Linked DNA regions of Homo sapiens: region 2 is linked to region 1. Evidence: promoter capture Hi-C in 16 types of primary human blood cells and fetal thymus (Javierre and others, 2016). All regions are on one chromosome and are shown on one strand. The core of a region is centred on a gene start or on the middle of the fragment in contact, and the rest is flanking DNA. Distances in the headings are between cores, read along the strand shown.

Region 1 (6,089 bases), core at 2,843-5,342:
GCTACTCGGGAGGCTGAGGCAGGAGAAGGGCGTGAACCCGGGAGGCGGAGGTTGCAGTGAGCCGAGATCGCGCCACTGCACTCCAGCCTGGGCAACAGAGCGAGACTCTCTCAAAAAAAAAAAAAAAAAACAAACCCCCGATGTGCTTCCTTCTGATCTCATTCCTGTCCCTCCCTTCCCAAAGGTTACCCTATTCTAAATCTAGGGTCTTTGATTTCCCATGCATGTTTCAATACTTTTACTAGCTGACTGTAGCCCCAAAATGTCTACATAGCTTATTTTGTATTTCTTTGGGTTTTTTGTTGTTTGTTTGTTTGTTTTTGAGAAAGTCTCTCTCTGTCACCCAGGCTGGAGTGCAGTGGCACAATCATGGCTTACTGTGGCCTCAAACTCCTGGGCTCAATCAATCTTCCCACCTCAGTCTCCCAAGTAGCTGGGACTACAGGTGCATGCCATCATGCCCAGCTAATTTTTGTATTTTTAGTAGAGATAGGGTTTCGCCATGTTGCCCAGGCTGGTCTTGAACTCCTGGGCTCAAGCGATCTTCCCACCATAGCCTCCCAAAGCGCTGGAATACAGACTTGAGCCACGGGCCCAGCTGAATGCGTTAAGAAACATTTTTTATCATTTGTGTCACACTGTACCTATGCTACAACTTGATGTTAGTTTTTTTCCTAGGGTGTAACTATGTTGAGGCTGCAGACTTAGTTTATTTTTACTCCCAGTATATTATTCCATTGTATGACTACATCACAATTAATCTATCTGGTCTGCTGTTTGTTTGTTGAGACGGAGTCTCGCTCAGTCACTCAGGCTGGAGTGCAGTGGCACGATTTCGCTCAATGCAACCTCCACCTCCCAGGTTCAAACAATTCTCCTGTCTCAGCCTCCCAAGTAGCTGGGACTACAGGCACACGCCACCATGCCCGGCTAATTTTTGTATTTTTAGTAGAGACGGGATTTCACCATATTGATCAGGCTGGTCTCAAACTCCTGACCTCAAGTGATCCACCTGCCTTGGCCTCCCAAAGTGCTGGGATTACAGGCATGAGCCACAGTGCCTGGCCTATCTGGACTGCTGTTCATGGATAATTCATTAATTTCTAAATTTTCACAATTATGCGCTGAATGACGAGTGGAGTCATTGAATTGTAGCTATGAGTATCTTCCACTTTCTTACAAGTTGCCAAACTGTTCTCCAAAATCGTTTTACCAGTTCATATCTCCATAGGTATTTGAGGGTCCCAACTGTGCGACATCCTCACCCCCCACCCCCCTATATTGACAGACTCGACTCCGTGCCCATCTGGTGGATGTGTAATGGTGTATCACAGTTCTCTTCATTTGCGTCTCTCACGTGGCCAATAAGGTTGAGCACCTTTTCACATTTTAGGCTATTTTAGCCATTTAGGTTTCCTCTTTTGTGAGTTGCCTGTTGATATCCTTAATCCATATTTAAAAAATTGGATTGTTGGTCAGCCCATTAAACTCCCTCCACCTGGCACACCCACCTCCCTATTTCCACAACCTAACTGATTGCTACTTTTTCCGGGAAACTTGTTCTCTTTCCTCAATTCGAATTTAGAGTTGCCTCTAAATAATCACTGGTGACACCGTACCTTTCTTGTGGCATTTATAATTTCCTGTTCTGTAGTGTTTTAACTTCTTATTTTGCATATCAAACTTTTTAGTTTACAAAAGCACCTGCTCCTTCATTGTCTTATTTGAACATTTATGCAACAGCCCCACGAGATGGGTAGTATTATTACCCTCTTTTCAACCGATAAAGAAACATGGTGTAGGAGGGTCTAGCTAACCCAAGACCCCGCCCTGGCTCAGAGGCAGAGCTGGACTTGAAGCCAGGACAATTCAATTCCACGTGCAGCTCACAGCACAATCCCCTCTTATTTATCTATGCATCAACACCGCCTCCTCCACGAGGTTGCCAGTTCCTTGTCTCTCATCCACCTGTGTGTCTCCCATCCACCTGTGTGTCTCACATCCCCCCGCTCTAGTCCCACACAGTGGGGCAATCAAGATTCTGAATACAGAATTTCTTAACAAAGTATTAATACAATGATCACTTACTGCACACCTACTGGGCACCAGGGGCTTTGCATACATTAACTCTAACCTTCCCAATAACTCTATTTAGGTGAGGACACGGAGGCTTAAGACTTAAAGTCTCTGGAGCAAGAATTGTTTAAAAAAAAAAGAAAGAAAGAAGTGACACACTCAGGCTCCCATGGCCAGTAATGGGTGGAGCTGGCCTGTAGCCTCAGAGGTGAGCACTTCGCTCTATCATCTCTGTCCCCCAGCATCCTGAAGGCAGACCCAGCCAGCTTAGAAGCTAGTGGGAGTGTTCTGCTCCCATCATCAGCCCTACCCGCGTTGGACACACCTTCTCTTGGCAGAACATGGTTAAGTAGCACAATCCTAGGGCCCCTTTGGGACTTGAAAATGTGCTCTCCAGGATTGGGAGATTTTGTGCCATGGGGCTGCTCCCAGGCTTTCCTTCCAGGTTCAGGCAGGTACTCAGCAGTGCTAGGTTCTGCTGAGGCGCCAGGATCCAGAATGGGGCAGTGAGGCAGGTGAGAGCAGGGGGATCAAGGGGCAGAAGGAAGTGAGGAAGGAGGTGAAAGGACTCCTGGATCTCTGCTGAGAAGGTGAGGTGGGGGGCTGCACAGATCATGCTCCAAGGCCAGGAGGCAGAGGGCCCAGAGTGAGCAACTGACAGTGAACAGGGAAGGCTCTGGGGGAAGGTGCTGTCCACTGGCCACACCCATGAAAGCACATATCCCTGTCTGGTGGGGGTGTCTGCAGAGTGGGATGGTAGCCACAGAGGTGGGCGCTGTGGACTGAGGGCAAGGATGGGGGTGGGGTTATTGGTAAGTGTTCTTCCTCCCTTCCCCCAAGAGTGAGTCTGGGTGGGGCCATGTCTGCCTTTCCCCCACAGGGCAGGGTCCCTATGATTGGAGCTCTGCCCACTGACTCCATCTGCCATTCCTATGACTCTGTGCATGTTGTCTTTCATTGTGTGCCCTTTATTTACATGACATGTTGTGCGTGTGGTATATATTTGCGATTGTACCATGTATTTCTGTGCACTGTGTCTCTACGCAATTTGTTGTTTGGGGCTATTTCGGCCATGTAGGTTTCCTCTTTTGTGAATTGCCTTTTGATATCCTTAACCCGTATTTTAAAAATTGCATTGTTAGCCCACTGAATTCCCTCCACCTGGCACACCCACTAACCTATTTCCACAACCTATCTGAATGCCACTTTTTCAGGAAAACTTGTGTCTCTTGCCCGTCTGTGTTGTGACTTTATGTGTTATGTCCGTCTACCTTACATGCATGTTCTGTTGTGTGTCTCTGTTGTGTACAGTGTGTTCCCCCTTGTGTATCTATGCCTATGGCTGGTGTGTACAGTACTTCTCTTTGTGGTGTGTTTGTGTCCTGTACATGCTGTGGTGTGTTCTGACCTGTGTCGGAACAACATGCGTTGTGCACTGTGTGTTGTGTATCTACATTATACTTGTGCTGTGTCTCTGTGCCGAACGCCTGTGCTGTTAGTGCAAGGTGTTGTGTGGCCTGTTTGGGCGTCCTGGGTCTGTGTCTGCGCCAAGGGTCCGCGCCGCCCTGCTGTGTGTCTGTGCCAGGGTCCGCCGGTGCCTGCGCGCAGAGCTGTGTTTCCTCAACAAGTGTGCGAGCGGTCGTGTGCGCCATGAGCGCTGCCTGGCGTCTCCGTGTGCGCCGCGGTGTGGCCGCTCCTCGGCGGGGGGCCCGGGTCCTGGCTAGTGGCCGCGGAGGATGCGCGCCCGCGGGGCGGGCGGGGGCGGGCGGGGGCTGGCGGCGCTGCGGAGCCCGGCGGCCGCGGGCTCCAATGGCGAGGCCGGCGCGGCCCCCGCTAATTACATAAGCGGGACGTCAATAATTCGCGGGAAAACGCGAAAAAGATGGCGCCCCGCGCCCGGGGGGCCCCTTCCTGAGCGCCCCGGCCCCTCCCTCCGCCGCCTCCCCCTCCTCCCCGCGGCGCCCCCGCCCCGCCCCGCCCCCGCCGAGACCCCGACCCCGGCCCCACGGGCGGACACTCGGCCGGGCAGCCGCGGGCCGAGCGCAGCCGCCTCCGCCACCGATGCGCCTGGTGGCCAGACTCCAAGTGGGACCGGCGGACACGCAGCCTCGCGGTGAGTTCTGCGCTGTTGGGCGGACTCCCCGCCACGCTCTCCCCTCCCGGCCCTCATCCCTCTCTTTTCGAAATCTCCCTGAACTTTGGCGGCCCGAACGCCTCCGGGGGGTGAGACTCCTGCGGAGCGGGGCTCTCGGGGGTGGGGACCGGGGGTGCAGGTTACCTGCGGGGCAGAGGGGCCCCACCCGGGTTCCCGAGCCCCGGGGGGCATGGGTGACAGGTCGTTCTTCCTCGCCCCCGATCTTTAATTTTCCTATCGGGGTGGGGGAAGGACAGACGGGCGTTTGGCATTTCGCTCACGTCCGAAGTCAGGCTGCGGCAGGGTTGGGATGGGGGAGGCTTGGCGTCCGAGCGACTGAGGAGAGGAGCGCTGAACCCGAAGGGGGTGCTTCTGCAAGCTTTTTCCCCCCTCCTGAACATCCTTTTTAAAAAGCCAACGGCCGCCCTGGGAGAGGCCCCGGCGCATGAATCATCCTCGCTTCCTGCCCCCGCCCGGCCCCGCGCTCCCGGTGCCGCGGATTTGAACTGGACGCAGACGGGAACCCGCAAACAGGCATTTCTTTGCAAATGGGTTTGAATCAGCCAATCACAGCCCGCGGGGGCCCGCTCCGGGAGGACGGAGGCGGGGGCTGGGGGGGCGCCACCCGGGGGCCCCCGCCCGGCCAGGGTGGAGGCGGGTGCGGCGACCCGGCCGGCTCCTAGAGGCGCAGCGGGAGAGGAAGTGTCAGTTTGTGAACCTGCAGCGGCCCCGGCCTGGCCCCTGGCCGGGCGGGCGGGGACCTCGCAGCGCCGGGCGAGCCAGGTGGCAGGGAGAGGACAGGGATTCAGACCGCATCCCCTGCCCGGGAGCCTGTGCGCTCTGCGCTGGAGAAAAAGGAGATGGGAGTGGGGGTGGAGAAGGTCGTGGCCACGCCACCATCTGGGGAGCCGAGACCCCTGCAGTGCCTGGCTCGCCCCAGGGCCCCGCACATACTTAGCTTCACACACTCCCTGGCACAATGCCGTAGACATCATCCTGCCCAGTCTCACAGGAGTACACACACGCACCACACAGAAACAGGCACTGGACTCTCTCCCTGTGAACAGATAGTCACAACACCAGGTGCCCAGCGCCATGGCCACAAGGAGGAGACCCGAGTAGGCCCGCGGGGAAAGAGAGAGGCTGTGTGTGGCTGTAGTGGAGAGCATGTGGAGGGACTTGGAGCCAGGTGAGCCCAGCAGAAAGGAGGGGGCGTTAGGGACGGCTTTGAGCACCAGTGAGGGCAGTGGGGAGCCCCAGAAAGTTTCTGGAAGGAAATTGGTGGCCCTGCGGAAGAGTCTGGTGGAGAGGCAGGAATGCAGGAACGGCCTGTTTAGCACTGGGTGCTGGTAGTACCGTTCCCCACCCTAGGTGCCTAGTGGAGGTAAGCACAAGGCCCAGGAAACTGTTATTGGGTGAATGAATGAATGAATGAATGGCCCAAGCAAAAGATGAGGCCTGAACTGAGACCAGGGCAGGAGGATGGAAGCTAGAGCTGGAAAGCCAGAAATCATGGCACTTAAAATGGGCCGGCTGTGGCAACTAATTGCTTGGAGGAGTTTGAGATGCATGAAGGCAGTACCACAGGCAGGGAGAGAGAAATCGATGGGTGAACTGCACGTTGAATAGGATGGTGAGAGACAGGCGTGGAGAGGCTGGCATGGGGATGGATGACTTCACTGCTTGGAGCAAATGTGTATCTGGGTGAAAGCATAAGTGGGTTTAAATGTCCCAGAATTGGTTTCCATTAAATCATCTCATAATTGAGAACAGAAGGGGGGATTACAAAAGACAGATGACCCAGTCTACACTAGCTACAAGCCACCCAGTTTTCCTTTCTAGGTGAATTTTCTCTGGACAGATCTCAGGTTAGGGATGG
Region 2 (6,202 bases), core at 1,281-3,780, 100 kb before region 1:
AATTGCAGCACTTTGGGAGGCCAAGGCGGGCGGATCATGAGGTCAGGAGTTCAAAACCAGCCTGGTCAATATGGTGAAACCCCGTCTCTACTAAAAATACAAAAATTAGCCGTGCGTGGTAGTGCACGCCTGTAGTACCAGCTACTCAGAAGGCTGAGGCCGGAGGATGGCTTGAACCCGGGAGGCGGAGGTTGCAGTGAGCCAAGATCAAGCCATTGCACTCCAGCTTGGGTGACAGAGTGAGACTCCATCTCAAACAAACAAACAAAAAACAGAGTAGAATCAGGTCATTTCGCCTTAAAGACACCATTTCACTCCCCTTTTAAAACATTGCTTCTTTTTAGGGTACCTTGCCTGTTGAAGCCCGAGAGAACAGCTTATATCTTACAGCCTTTACTGTGATTGGAATTAGAAAGGCTTTCGATATATGCCCCCTGGTGGTAAGTAAGAGTTTTCTTTCTCTCACACCCATCATCTATTTCTGTACTATATACTGGAGGGGCCACCAATCAGAAGACCTTTTGTTTCAAAAGCTTCTTTTCCTTCTTTCCAATAACTTGAAAATAACTTAAACTCCAGAATTGAAAGATTTCAGAACAATGATAGATATTAGAGACCACCTAGTCCAACCTACTCATCGGCAGTTGAGAAAGCTGAGGACTAAGTAAGGTGAATTCAGTTTCCCAGTGTCACAGGCTAATAAATTGTAGAGCTGGGTCTAAAACTGATAGCTGGGACTGGGATGGAAGAATGATCCAGTGCCCCCAGCTTCTCTGTCTTATCTTTGCTAAATCCTGCTTTATATGTTACTGTTATCCTATAGTGAAAGCATTCTGTATCATGCAAGTACTGAGGATACACAACAGCAAATGTGTATCCTCCAAATCCTTCCAAACAACATTTGCTTGGAAACGGGAGAAAAGTGATGAGCCACCTAAGTAAATCAACATAGAAGATTTCCAAGGTTGAGATGGAAAATCTCAAGTGGATTTGCAAAACTGGAAGCACAAAACAAAACCATTTGTTTTCAGTTTGTTTCAGAAGCTTAACAAGACAAAATAATCAATGAAGACTAGTTCCCAGGCACCTAGTGGCCACATGGGTGAGAGATGCATGTGGAGCTGGGAGAGGAGGCAGGCAGGATGTTAGCAGCATCGCAGCAGGCTTTCTGCTGGCCCACTTGCCCAACACAACCATTTTGGTGGCGTCAGGACTAGTGATCGGGACTATTTACCCAGGCATTCTTAGGATCTAAAAGTACTGTGGCAGTTAGGGTTTCTTTCTGCTACTTATTGTTTTATTTATTTATTTTTTTAAGTGTAACTCCTTTTGAACCTGTGTGCCTGTTGCAACTACGCTGAGAGGGAACAATAAAAGTTGTGTCTATGGGCCGGGTGCAGTGGCTCACGCCTGTAATCCCAGCACTTGGGAGGCCGAGGCGGGCGGATCACAAGGTCAGGAGATTGAGACCATCCTGGCGAACACGGTGAAACCCCGTCTCTACCAAAAATACAAAAAAAAAAAATTAGCCGGGCGTGGTGGCGGGGCGCCTGTAGTCCCAGCTACTCCGGAGGCTGAGGCAGGAGAATGGCGTGAACCTGGGAGGCGGAGCTTGCAGTGAGCCGAGATCGCAGCACTGCACTCCAGCCTGGGCGACAGAGCGAGACTCCGTCTCAAAAAAAAAGAAAAAAAAAGAAATTGTGTCTATGCTCGGTGCCTTTTCTTCCTGGAGGCTAGGTCTGACGGTGTACTCAGAAACTAAAGGCACAAAACCTCTAAAAGGAAAGTGAGAATTCAGAGGCAAAAAGCTTAACCTGATTTGGACAACCTCATTGTCCCTTCCAAGATTATGCTCTGCTCCTTCTCTCGGAGGGATTTGCTTCACTGAGAAGCCATCCATTTCCATTAGGTCAGTCCTCTTTTCACCCCCATATTGCTTGCTCCAGGATAGTGGGATCTGAGGGTAGTTCATATCAATTGATAGGTGGTTGCTTGACATAGAAACTGAAGTATCTTCTCTTGTTTCCAGAAAATCGACACAGCTCTAATTAAAGCTGACAACTTTCTGCTTGAAAATACACTGCCAGCCCAGAGCACCTTTACATTGGCCATTTCTGCGTATGCTCTTTCCCTGGGAGATAAAACTCACCCACAGTTTCGTTCAATTGTTTCAGCTTTGAAGAGAGAAGCTTTGGTTAAAGGTATAACTTGTTCCATACATGTATTCAGTGAGTGTTCACTAAGACATAAAGTCTGCTAGTCTGGGAAGTGGGTGGTGACATGTGAACTTGAGTAAGATGCAATTCCTGTCCTCAAGGAACAAACCGTCACAATACGATGTAATGTGTGCCGTTATTCATTCATTTATTCATGCATTCATTCAGCAAATATTTATTCTTTTTTTTAAGACAGGTTCTCGCTCTGTCACCCAGGCTGGAGTGCAGTGGCATGATCGTGGCTCACTGCAGCCTCGATCTCCTGGGCTCAAGTGATCTTCCCACCTCAGTAGCTGGGACTACAGGTGCCCACCACTGAACCCAGTTACTTTTTTTTATATTTTGCAGATACGAGTCTCACTGTGTTTCCCCGGATGATCTCAAATGCCTGGGCTCAAGCACTCCTACTGCCTCAGCCTTCCAAAGTGCTAGGATCACAGGCATGAGCCACCACACCTGTCCTCTATTTATTCCTTTATTCAATAAATATGCATTGAGTATCCTATGTACACCCTGGACACCCCCTATATACCTGGCACTATTCCAGTCTCTGGGAATAAAGGAATAAACAAAACAGGCTCCCCAAAATCCAGGCCATCATGAAACTTAAATTCTAACTGGGGAGACACAAACATGATAAATAAATAAAGCTTTATGAATAGATGGTGATGGCTGATATGAAGAAAAATAGAGCAGGGAAAGAAAATAAGGTGAGAGGATGCATTGTAATTTTAGACAAGCTGACTGGGCTTAAGTTTCACTAAGAGGATGGTGTTTGAGTCAAGAGCTGAAAGGAGGTGAAGAAGCAATTCCTGTGGCTATCTAGAAGGAAGTACCTGGTGGAGAACAGCACGTGCAAATGCCCTGAGGCATGGGCATGCCTGGTGCTCCAAGAATGGCAAGGAGGCCAGTGTGACTGCAGAGGAGTGAGAAGAGGAGTAGGAAGTGAGGTCAGGTAAGGAAAAAGTGAGGGAGCAAGGGAAGGTCATTTAAGGCATTAGAGAGACTCTTCAGGGCTTCTGTAAACAGTTGTGCCGTGGACAAAGTACCTAAGCAATCAAGTGAATCGAGGCTGAAATCTAGCCTGTGCTCCACTCCCCCGGCCACATACCCTAGTTTAGGGCTGCTTCCACCTAGAGCAAGGAGTGCCCATGTCTTATCCACAGCAATGTGCTGTGGGGACCAGAAGGAGCCCTAGAACTTTAATTTCAGCTTTGAGAGTGAAAAGGGGAGCCACTGGGGGATTTTGAGCAAAGGAGTGCATGACCTGGCTTATATTTTACCAGGTTTGCTATAAAAGTATGTGTTTGGTTTTGAAGAATAAAGATACTGCTTCCTATAGGTCAAGAGACAAAAAATAGAAAGAGAGTAGCAGTGATTATTAGCATGGTTGGGCACTTTGGAGTCCTCTTCTAGCTAAGGCTTTATAAATCTTACTGAGGTTTATGACCATCTACAAAATATGATTTGTGCCATCATTTTAAAATTACTATATTTTAACATATGCCTCAAAACCACTTGTACGATACTTCAAAAATAACACAAAAGAAATGTCTTGGGTATTGTGAGATATGGGTCATAAAATCATAAAATTTAAGATCTAGAAGGGAACTTAATAATCCAAGAGTTGTTCCAGTTGGGTTTCTTTAAAATCCTAAACTCAACTCTTCATTTTAAATACAGCAAATCTGAGACTCTGAGAGGAAGGGTCAATATCATTTTCAAGGTCATGCAAATAATGTAGTTATGAATTATAAACATACACATCAAAATTTTTACTAACCTTCAAATATGATTTCCAAATATGCATTACTTTTTTTAAAACAAATAGTTTGTTCCAAAAAGGATTTGAGGTTTACAGGTTTAAATAACAAATATAATTTACAGCCTAATTTATGAAAAGTGCTGCATGTACGAAATTGTCTTGAGTGCTTTAAATTGGAAAGAAATAATGAAAGACTGAACTAAGGCTTTAGGTTTAATCTCATAATTTCCAGGATGTAAATTTTCCTATCAGGAAAAAGGTTCTCCAGTTTATTTTTTAGTGTCAGTAATAATAATAATAATAATAATCCCTTATATATGCATGGTGCTTTCTAGTTTACAAAATCTTTTACTTTAGTATTTCATTTGAGTTTCACTGCATGGAAGAAAGTATTATCTATACTATAGGTATTAGGAAATTGAGTCACACAGAACTAAAGGAATTTGCCCAAAGTGACATGGTAAGTTAGCAACAAAAGAAAGACTAGAAGCTGGGTGCAATACCAGTTTATTGCACTTTCGACTCTACTAAACTGCCCCTTCCTAGTACATGTGTACTATGTTGATTTTAAAATACAGATTGAGGCCGGGTGCAGTGGCTTATGCCTGTAATCCCAGTACTTTGGAAGGCCAAGGTAGGAGGATTGCTTGAGCCCAGTAGTTTGAGACCAGGCTGGATAACATAACCTGGCATGGTGGCACACCCCTATAGTCCCAGCCACTCAGGAAGCTGAGGTGGGAGAATCACTGAGCCCAAGAGATTGAGGCTGCAGTGAGCTACAATCACACCACTGCACTCCAGCCTGGGTGCCAGCAAGATCCTGTCTCAAAACACACAAACAAAAAAAACAAAAAATAGGTTGAGTGTTCCTGATCTGAACTGCTTGGGACCAGAAGTATTTCAGATTTCAGATTTTTTTCAGATTTTGGAATATTTACATATACATAATGATATATCTTGGGGATGGGACTCAAGTCTAAACATGAAATTCATTTATGTTTCATATATACTTTACACACAGCTTGAAAGTAATTTTACACACTATTTTCAATAATTTTGTGCATGAAACAAAGTTTTGACTGCATTTTGATTGTGACCCATCACATGAGGTCAGGGGTGAAATTACCCACCTGTGGCATCATGTCAGAGCTCAAAAACTTTCAGATTTTGGGGGCATTTCATATTTCAGATTTTCAGATTAGGGATGCTCAATGTGTAAAGACAAGTAATACCATATTAAGGGATCTCGTTTTGCATTGGTCATCTTCAGGAAGTTCCTCTAACAAGAAAAAGTAAGTAGCTTCTAGAAACTGGAAGGCCATAATACACCTGGTAGAATTATTATGTCAAATTCACATTTTTAATCATATTAATGAATGGAATTTGTTGATGTTCAGGTAATCCACCCATTTATCGTTTTTGGAAAGACAATCTTCAGCATAAAGACAGCTCTGTACCTAACACTGGTACGGCACGTATGGTAGAAACAACTGCCTATGCTTTACTCACCAGTCTGAACTTGAAAGATATAAATTATGTTAACCCAGTCATCAAATGGCTATCAGAAGAGCAGAGGTATGGAGGTGGCTTTTATTCAACCCAGGTAACATTTCTTTGTCTTGTTTCATCTCCCTGTAGACATTTTTATTTTCTCCCCCACCACACTCATCTGGCCTCCATGCCTTTGTCCACCAAATGAGCATGCAATAGATATGAATAATGCCTAGAATTGAAGGACCCCTACAGGTTATCTGCGTCAACACTCTTATTATACAGAAGAGGAAATTAGCCCAGGGAGTTTTACTCAGGGAATTCATGGCAGAGCCAGAATCAGAACTCATGTCTCCTGACTTTAAGCCCAGTACTTCCTTCATGATTCTAAATCACCATGAAAGGCTAGTAAGGTTATTGGCAATTATATCATATCCTATGTAATAAATAGTGGTTGCCATGTAGACAAAGGTACTGATGCTCCTTCTCCACAACGAAATAAATAAAAAGTGGGAGAAATACTGATTGTTACATGTTAATCTATCTAGCTATTTAATGTAAACTCATTTGAGTATGTATTTTTATTACAACTAATTATTATGTAGTCGTATAATACATGTTTATATTCAAAGTTTAGATCGAATGTTAATATCTTCCCTGTTGCCTGGATGTTTAGATAATGATGGAGTGTGTATATTTATATATATGTAATTTAGATGTAGAGAGGGCC

What was found. The method cuts DNA at HindIII sites, captures the fragments that hold promoters and counts their contacts. A CHiCAGO score of 5 or more calls a contact.
Region 2: a fragment that was not itself captured here is called in contact with the fragment with the promoter of PHF19 in region 1 in 3 of 17 cell types (naive B cells, total B cells and naive CD4 T cells); the score reaches 6.6 in naive B cells.

Annotation. Positions count from the first base shown.
Region 1 is chr9:120,875,191-120,881,279 of GRCh38, reverse strand. PHF19 (PHD finger protein 19) reads left to right here and starts at 4,092. Exons shown (of 15, transcript NM_015651.3): 1 at 4,092-4,189. RefSeq lists enhancers at 3,293-3,342, 3,603-3,652, 4,664-5,255 and silencers at 3,773-4,052, 4,293-4,342, 4,623-5,072. The HindIII fragment of the contact is 7,264 bases long and covers 1-4,591 here.
Region 2 is chr9:120,976,082-120,982,283 of GRCh38, reverse strand. It overlaps C5 (complement C5), which reads left to right. Exons shown (of 41, transcript NM_001735.3): 27 at 345-440; 28 at 2,030-2,201; 29 at 5,379-5,584. Among named protein-coding and RNA genes, the nearest start is that of C5-OT1, 26 kb to the right of the region's middle. The HindIII fragment of the contact is 677 bases long and covers 2,192-2,868 here.